Linked DNA regions of Homo sapiens: region 1 is linked to region 2. The links are contacts of gene promoters, found by promoter capture Hi-C in blood cells and fetal thymus (Javierre and others, 2016). All regions are on one chromosome and are shown on one strand. The core of a region is centred on a gene start or on the middle of the fragment in contact, and the rest is flanking DNA. Distances in the headings are between cores, read along the strand shown. Region 1 overlaps DCUN1D4 (defective in cullin neddylation 1 domain containing 4). Region 2 holds the start of LRRC66 (leucine rich repeat containing 66).

Evidence for each region. Contacts are between HindIII fragments. The CHiCAGO score rates a contact against its expected background, and 5 or more counts as called.
Region 1: a fragment that was not itself captured here is called in contact with the fragment with the promoter of LRRC66 in region 2 in 1 of 17 cell types (monocytes); the score reaches 5.7 in monocytes.

What each region holds. Positions count from the first base shown.
Region 1 is chr4:51,915,561-51,920,459 of GRCh38, reverse strand. It overlaps DCUN1D4 (defective in cullin neddylation 1 domain containing 4), which reads right to left. Exons shown (of 11, transcript NM_001040402.3): 11 at 3,623-4,899. Among named protein-coding and RNA genes, the nearest start is that of DCUN1D4, 75 kb to the right of the region's middle. The HindIII fragment of the contact is 939 bases long and covers 1,926-2,864 here.
Region 2 is chr4:52,018,425-52,023,156 of GRCh38, reverse strand. LRRC66 (leucine rich repeat containing 66) reads left to right here and starts at 2,794. Exons shown (of 5, transcript NM_001024611.3): 1 at 2,794-2,853. SGCB (sarcoglycan beta) reads left to right here. Exons shown (of 6, transcript NM_000232.5): 6 at 1-2,451. The HindIII fragment of the contact is 6,788 bases long and covers 1,408-4,732 here.

The sequences.
Region 1 (4,899 bases), core at 1,146-3,645, 100 kb after region 2:
ATTGCCCTGAACTGAAAATAATCCAAATGTCCACCAACATTTCATAGCACATCCATTCAATGGAACACTGCTCGGCAATAAAAAGCAATGAATCAATAGTGCATGGCTAAATCTGAAAAGCATAATAAGTGAAACAAGCAAAAACAAAATGCTACGTCACATAGGATTCCATATATATGACATCCCAGCAAATGAGAAAAAATTAGAACTCAGTGGATGCCAGGGCCTTGGGTTGGAGAGAGGGGATTTCCTGTTAAGGGCACTAGGAGACCTTGAATGAGCTAGACAGCAAACACACTTACAGACCTCAATCTTCTTGGCTCTTGTCAAACTTTGGTTTATCTCTTGGGGCTCCCCAAGGTGCTGGGGTGGAGACAGACTTTAGCTTCAACCTCAGCTTCCCAACTTTCCAGCTATGTGACTTTAGACCAGTTATTTAAATTCCCTCAACTTCAGGTTCCTCTACATACTTCACGTAAGTGTTGAAAGGTGTTCAAGGAGATCAGTGTAAAGCACATTGTCTGGACACTTTTTCTCAAAGGAGCTAAATGATATCAATAAGCAACCAACTGGCCTTCTTGACTACATCTCTAAAACCCATTAGAGCTTGCTGACCCATTCAGGTGCTGGAGCATCAACTATCAAAACCAGATCCATGAGTGTGCACTGTGGCATCTAAGGAGAGCCCTACACCGATTCCTGATCTCTTCCTATTGTACCTTACTCTCCAAAAGGAACTCTCAGCTCTAACCCAGTTGGTGTGTTTCTGGTCTACCATTGCTAAGTGTCTGAAGGCACTGACACTCAGTGGGCATAGGCCTCCCATTCATAGGTCTTTCCTAATTCTTTAGTCTGTTGATTTTCTATTATTCCAGTTTCCTCTATGCACTCTTGTAAACTTTAATGCCTGTGTTACCAATTTCACATAGGAATTCGGCCTAACACACAATTAAAGTTTGTTGATACAATGATTATATTGAGAATCTGAAAATCAACCCTGATGTAGGCAAAATAAGGACTTGAAGGATTTATGAGCACTTTGAGACACACAGAACACAGACACATGGAACAGGTTGCTAGAAGGCATCTATTATTTTATTCAATAATTTTGGAAGTGTGATAGGATTACAAACCTTGTCCAGGCCCTACTCTCACTATGGGATACAGAGAAGCCACCATAGGTAATGAAGCAAAAATGAACAATAAGCAAGTAGAGACAAAGAAAACGCAGTGGCTTTCAACATGCTATCGAAAGTTGGCCCAAAACTTTTTCATGAGTTATTTCACTGGTAATGAGTACAGCTGTAGCTCTCTTTATCATCACACATGTATCCTAAGATTTCTAGAGAACACTAGTTTGTAATTTTAGATATTCACACTTAGGCAATTCTGAGATGTCTCTGCTGGAAAGTGTCAGAGGGAAAAACAAACCCTTTTCAGCTTCCTTTCTCACAGCCAGGATTCTTTACAATCTATATTTTTCAGAGAGTGATTGCAAAGGAGTTTCTTTCAAAGGACCGAATACACTTATTGGAGAAGAGATTTACATTTTAAATGATGGTTTTTAAAGTTTCCATTTAATTACTATAGTCAATCTTTGTTTTTCAGTTTCCAATTATTATTCTCAGCATAGCCTACGTACTAATTCACCATGATTTCTAAGCAAGTACTTCTATACATGGGATGATTTTATTTTCGTTAAGGCAATTGGAAATAAATGCTAGGAACAAATTCTGGCAGAGAAAAAACTAAACATTTTTCTGCTGAATGTGCCAAAAGTGGTGAACATGCCCGATTTTGAATTACCTTCTGCCTTACCGGGCCAGAAAGCTTGATGTGTTATTTCTTCGCTTGATATATTTTTTTTTTTTCTAGCTATGATAAAGTCCCAAAAGCAATTCTTTTCTAAAGGAATCATAAAAGCTTTCATCTTTTGCTTACTCTTCATGTAAGGATTTGGAGGTAACATTCCAATGAGTCATTTCTATTTGATGCAACCAGCGACCATGGCATGTCCTGCTTTCACGTATGTTCAACAAATCAAGAAAGTCAGTGTCCGGAAATAGCCAATTTTATTCCTCACTTCTGTAGCCCTGGGGTTGACACAATCGTCTTTGATTTCTTCCTGTGGGTGTTTTTCATTTTTTCAGTTCATTTTCCTCTCCACCCCATTATTTCAAAGGGCTTAACAATGTCCTTCCTTTAGGGTGACCTTGTGTAAGTTTTTCCTTCATGGGTATGTCTGCAATGCACCTCTGCTAGGTTTTTTGTCTTGAGCCAGCATTCGTGGTTTACTCTCTCCTCAGTCTATCTTGCTCCAATTACAGCAGAGAACTTTATTTCAATTCCCATGAGTTTACATGTAGAGTCCTAGTACTGTCTAGTGGAATAAATCTCATGTTCCTATTTTCTATTATTGGATAACACGTCTCATGAGTTTCTACTGTTTGCTCTGCCACAAGTTAAGAATTCCCTGTCCTAAGGTTTGTTGTCTCTCACTCCTATCAATTCGGGATTAAGTTTTTTCCTTTATCTCCACCTCTCTTTCTTGATGTCTAGAAGCAGAGATATTTTCTTGGTGTGATGCTCAGCTTTTGGCCCAAATTATGGTTTAAAGAATCATCCACATTGACAATTTTAACAGCGTGCACCTGGATTCTAAGGAATCTTATTTTCTACTTCCTCTCTCTTGCTTTCAAGCGTATAAAAATCAAAAGTCTTCCTCGATTTATTCTTGGATTTTCTAATCTTTACATGTTTCTTAGGTCCTGACAATTCTTTGCCCAGAGAGGAAATTCTGTTACCTGCTTCCTTCCATTTTCTGGCCATCCACTACGTGCCAGAGGTCCTGCCCTCAGAAAGCTTACATTCTAGTATAGTGTAAGACAATTTTAGAAAGGGGTAGCCAGGGCTAACACACACTTATAGACTAATTGCGTGGCAGCCTTGAGGGTAGTAAAGTGGTCATTCCTGCCTAGCTTGTGGCCCACATTATGTACTTAATTCTTTAGCTCAATGTGTAGAAATACACAAAACATGGTGGGTTTTTTTAAAATCACTATTTGGCTGAGGAGTGACTGCACTATCTTTAATCAAAACATTTAAAATACTGTATCTGAAAGTGTTCTAGATTAAAAGAGACTAAAGAGGCGTAACAACTAAATACAATGCTTATCCCTGGATTAAAAAGATAATAGCTATCAAGAACATGACTGGCACAAATGGAGATACTTAAATCTGCACTGTTTATTATAGTATAGTACCACCATTAAACTTCTTGAGTGTGATCATTTTATCATGGTTATAGGTGAATGCCCTTATTCCAAATTAACAGGTGTGATGTGTCATAATGTAATTTACTCTCAGAATCTATTTACAGAATGTGAGAAGTACACACACGTATAGCCCAAGAGTAAGGCAGGAAATACAGTAAAATGTTAACAACTGGAAAATCTAAGTGACAGGTACACAGTTGTTCATTATATTATTGTAGCTTTGGAAATTTTCAATAGAAGAAGTTGGAAAAAAAACAAACAAAAAAGGATAAAAAATGCTTTAAAGACTACCTTAAATGGTTTTTGAAATGAAAGCCAGAAGAGAGAAGAAAAAATTTACACATCTGTTCTGAAACCAAACACAAATACTTTTTATTCATGGGATATCATTTTACATCAATGTCATTGAAACCTAAAACCAGTTTGCTGTACTCAAGTTAGGTGGCATAACAGTATTTCAGTTAAGCTGGGAGTCACAGGACTTGCACACTTTTATGAATGTAATGCAAATACTGACGACACGAAGCATTCACAGTTATAGGTTACCTGCTGTCATTGAACAGTAACCCCCAATAGAAATTATTTTATGAAAAAAGCAACCCACGTTTTGGTCTCATTTACAGACACCCAACATTTTAGTTGGTCAATGAAATCTATACATTTATTATACAACATATGAAAGAATAAAGGATAAGGCTTACAGAGGTATTTTAGCAGTTTTAAGAATAAAAACCAAGGGCACAAACTAACTTTTAAAGCTTTCTGTATAAACTTCAAAAGCACTGTTAAAATGGAGACTGAGAGAGAAAATAAATCCATTGTGAAACCAGAATCTAGGTTTGCCTAGTCAGATTTATAAAAACATAATTCAGAGTTCATGCTTCAAAAAAGGTGCATGTAACATTACAGTGGATGTTTGAGGCAAATCAAATAATACAATTTCTGACCTACTTCAGCAGTAAACATCTAAAGGTTGTATTCCATGACAACAGAGTATTGCAATGTGGAGTTCGAAACACAATAGAAAAAGAGAAAGGGTTGTAGACTTAGGTACTAAAGAAAACCCAGATGAAGGCACCCTAATTTATTCAACATTAGCCAGTAAATAAGTGCTTGATGATTGTTCAGTTTTGTGCAACTTAGAGAAGTTTTTAAGAAAATGTATCATATTACTCTGTCTGACCCCTTTTTCTCCCCTTAGAAATAAATATATAAAATCAAGACAATCAAGGGTAAGCACTCTGCCGCTCAGCAGTCAAAGAGGTTTATTTTTCAAGGCAGTTTAAAGATTATTTGGAGTTTTCTTAATATGCAAGATTATCCCTTTGGAATACTTACTTTCTTATCATACATAATGCAATAGTTTTTACGCAGTTTTTTCCCTACCATCAAAATGTTGATTGTGGATTAACTGTAACATCTCCCTCCTGTAACAATCCTCTCATTTTAGAATTAACTGTGCTTATCAGCATTTTTTAAAAATCTCTATATTCTAACATAGTGTTTAAAATAACTTCATCTATGATTTATATTTGCTTTAAATAAAGCTACAGTTGATCAGATTTAAAGAACTGTATGACCTGTTGCCTTTAAAGTGTAACTTTTTAACTTTATGGAATAATTT
Region 2 (4,732 bases), core at 1,545-4,044:
GTTAAGAAACTTGCTCAACATCATATAGTAAGTAGCAGAGTTGGGATTGGAATTCAGGCATGACTCAAACCTGGATGTACTTGATTCCAAATGCCATGTTGTTTTCACTCTCTGCACTGACTTTTTAATTATTTAAAACTCTAGAAAGATGAACAAAGGTTAATTTAAACTTACCTAAGAAGATGAGAATCAAACAAAACAGATATGCTTACTCTAGTTAAAAAGAAAATAAATCTCATGTCAGACCCAGAAAGGACCAATCACTGTCCGATTGTAAGCTATGTTGGGCCAATTCCAAAATATTATACGATGGAGAGGTCAAATTTACCTACTTCTGAGTTACCTCAGTTTCCCAACAATGGACCTTGGCACACTGGAGTAACAATACATAACAGAGTTGCCAAGATATTTATACCCTCAGCACTCGGGGCAACACAGTGGAAAGTGGGGAGGCCATAGACCCAAACAAGTTCTTTGGGCCAGGCATGGCCTAGTAAGTACACCATGCCTCGAAAATAAGTCCAGAAGCACTGGACTAAAGAGTGCTAATGCAGGAAATAATACACATAATTTTTAGGTAAGGATAATAATTTATCTCTGCTCCTAATATTACTATCCCATTGTAATTATTTATAACCCTCAAGCCAGTTGATTTTTAATATATTTGATTGGAAAAGAACTCTCTGGTATTATTAAGACTCACACAGAATCAGGGACAGGGCCCCCAAAGGAGTTTGCTGTAAAATAGGCAGTAGAGTTGTGGCATGGGCCCAACCCTGCATTCAAGTGTAACAGCATTCTGTCAGGGTCACTTTGAATTGTGCACATAAGAAAACCAATACAAAAAACAATTTGTATTCAATATTGTCACATTTCTCTCTGGTAGAAAAATCAAATACCTTAGAGATTATGAAGTCATTAATTTATACTGAAATTGGATTGACTTACTACCTAACACTGAGCGCTGTTTTTAAATGAAAAGAATGAGATTTATAACCACTTGAGTGTTATTGCAGTGATATTTGAACTCATTTGAATATATTCAGTATCATTTAATGTCTGAATTCAGAAAAAAATGCCGAAATTTTTATTCAGATGGTCCATAAATTAAATTGCATATTCATTACTTATCTGCTCTATTTAGATTTATTTTAAAAGTTTATTTAAGTAAATATTTTTATAAAAACCAGAAAACACTGTATTACAAAATATTATTTATTAAATGTAGTTCAGGAAATAATCTATTTTTACTCTTTTTTGGGAAATACTTGTGTTTTTGATACATCTCCATGAAGTTCTTTTGAGAGGAGAGGCTATTTTGATGTTTTTATACAACTGAAGGTTAACAGCCATAGCATTTTATGATACTTTACAGGTAGTCCTGGCTTTTTCCCTGAAACATAAGCTTGGAAAATCTATTAGAAAGCAGAACAGGGCAAACTCTCCATTTTACTTATGGCTTTTCTAATTTTTAATTAATTAATTTATTTTTTTGAGACAGAGTCTTGTTCTGTCGCCAGGCTGGAGTGCAGTGGCACAATCTCGGCTCTCGGCTCACTGCAACCTCTGCCTCCCAGGTTCAAGCGATTCTCCTGCCTCAGCCTCCCGAGTACCTGGGACTACAGGCATGTGCCACAGTTCCCGGCTAATTTTTGTATTTTTAGTAGAGACGGGGTTTCACCATGTTGGCCAGGATGGTCTCAATCTCTTGACCTCGTGATCTGCCTGCCTTGGCCTCCCAAAGTGCTGGGATTACAGGTGTGAGCCACCACGCCTGGCCGGCTTATTTTTATCCACAGTAAATCTTCAGCAACTCATTGTCTCCACCAGATAGTATTTTTCTGTAAATGAAATGCTGACTTCGCCTCTTCCTGCTGTATGCTCATCCCTGCACTGAGCACAGATATGACAAGCAGTAGCCATGGGGGAGGTGGGTGACAAAGATAGGACCCCGGGAGGGGGCGCAGGTACATGCTAGTTTCAATTACCACAGTATTCTAGAGACGGGTTGCAATGACAAGGGGGGCAAATGAAATCAATGCAAGATTTCTTAATAATGGGCAGACAGAAAAATGTAAAACCACACAAAACGGACTGCTGATAATATTTTAAAATATACTTATTTGTCTTCTTTTTGCATTGTGAAAAAAACAAAATAAATTTTGTGTGATAATTTTGATGATGAAAGGTGGAAGTTCTACCTAGATTTGAATGAGTGTTTTTTTAAGGGAATGAGAATGTCATGGTGCTAAACCTGACAAATAAGAGATCATTGAAATGCTGAAAATTTTAACAGTCTTCTTAAAAGTATTGAGGGGGCAAAAATTACCAATTATGGTATACAAAAATAAGCCTATAAATGTGTTTCACATTGCTAACTTGAGTTTCAGTTGATTCAGTTTGTAATAACTAGTAATGAGCTTCTGTTTACAATAAAAATTCTGTAAATTGTTTGCTGTTAATTTTTTAAGGGTTATATATTAACTGTTTTCTACTTAGTCATGCGAACGTGATGAATTTAAATATGGCTTGAGAATGGGACGCTGTCAGTATTTATGTAATCTCTCTGGACTCCTAGAACTCAAAGTTAGAAAGTTGTACATTCCAAGTTTTGAATGCCCTCCTCTCTGTGCATTGCAGAAGGCCTCTCTCCAGTGGTGCTTCCCTGGTGTCCTAGGGGAAAGTGCACACTGTCACCATGGCAGGAGGCCAAAGCCGGAGATGAAAGGGTGAGGGCTGGCCACTGGGCAGCCTTGATGGCAGGTTGGGTGGAGCCTCAAAGGTTCAGGTCTTAAATCCCTACCTGGCTTGATCCAGATATCCACCCATTTGATAACCACTTAGGATACGAAGGTATGTCTTAGAGGCATTATTACTTTCCAGGTCTTGTCCTTACCCGAAATAGCCTCTGTTGCTTTTTTCCTTCAGTTTTGCCACCCTTTCTTTTATGTATAAATGAACTCTTCATTTCCTTTCTATAATACTTTGTTTTTTTGTGCTGCCTTCTTCCTATCTTTCACTTGCTGACTCACAAATGTACACACCCAGTATTTCTAACTGCTTCCTCCTACTTCAGCTTGACTATTTCCATTTTGAAATTTACATTTTGCCTAATTGTTTCCAGTTTTCTAAGCAACTTTTTCTGGAGTTCTGAGTGGTTCCTTACCTAATACATATAAATTTATAAATAGTATGATTTTTTTAACAAATTAATACCTTTCACTTTAAGATATAAGATTCCTTGTCTAGCTGTTTTGAACTCAAACCTAACATGTATAAATCTCTTCAGCTTAAAAAGAACCAGGGCAATTTTAATTCATGTCCCCTTAAGAAAAAGTATTTTTCAACCATGTCTTTCTCTTCAGCACTACAAAGTAATGTACCTGTGAATGGTGACTATATTTTTTTGTTGCTGATTTTGTTACATTAGCTTGGTGCACCATTGTATATATAATGATCTCAGCTTTGAACGTAGAAAAAATATCTTTGTTCCTGGGCAAATCAATTCAATTTCTAGTATTGCATAAGAAGCACACTGTAAAAATAAATCACTCCTCCATGCTGTAGGCTACCTTTGCTGTTCATGGCCATGTGTACCTGAATTTAAATGCCCTTGAAAATATGGGAGGATTGACCTTGTATGAAACAAAAGTTTTAAAGTTACATTGTAAATTTCATTCACTTCACTCCATGCATTCATTTACACACAAACAACATAACCCAGTGACAGACTGCAGACTATTAAAAATGTAAAACATTGGATAGATAGATAGATAGATAATGTTCCTTTTTTTTTTGGGAGTTCAGAACAGATACAAAGCAAAACAATAGCAACGCTGAATGTTACTAATGTGTATCAATTCCTTCAGTGTTTACTGAAAGATTTCTGTAAGAATAAAGACAAATTTGGAGGCTAAAGCAGGAAAAATGACCAGGCCATAAGATGTGAGATGAATCTGGAAGGATACACAAGACTGTGGCTGGCCGGGTGTGGTGGCTCACGCCTGTAATCCCAGCACTTTGGGAGGCCAAGGTGGGCGGGTCACCTGAGGTCAGGAGTTCGAGACCAGCCTGACCAACATGGAGAAACCTCATCTCTACTAAAAATACAAATTAGTGAGTTGTAGTGGCACATGCCTGTAATCCCAGCTACTCGGGAGGCTGAGGCAGGAGAATTGCTTGAACCCGGGAGGCGGAGGTTGTGGTGAGCTGACATGGCGCTCTTGCACTCCAGCCTGGGTAACAAGAGCGAAACTCCATCTTAAGACTGTGGCTAAGAGGAAAAGGCATTGAACTTGGAACTGGGAATGAACTGAAAGTGAATTTCAGTATGCGATATGCATAGATCATTCTTTGCAGAAGCCACATCTTGTAGTGGCTCCACATGAACTTATCAAGCTAGGTCATTAAGTTTACCTAGATAACACAGGCTTTGAATACCAACCTGAGGGATTTGGACTATAGGCAATAAGGAGCCCTTTGAGGATTTCAAATGAAGGAATAATATAGGAAATACGTTATTGTAGGAAAATAATCCTTTGGAGTCACCTAGGATGGATCACAAAGAAGGAAAGTCAAGAGGCAGAGGCAAGAAAGTCAGTTAAGCCATTTTAGTATTTCAGACTGCAGTGATGAAAACTAAACTGAGTGCCATTAGAACAGAAAGGAAGGGACAATTTCTTGGAAACTCATATACTCAATAATGTGATTATTTGTACACACAGTGGCTTTT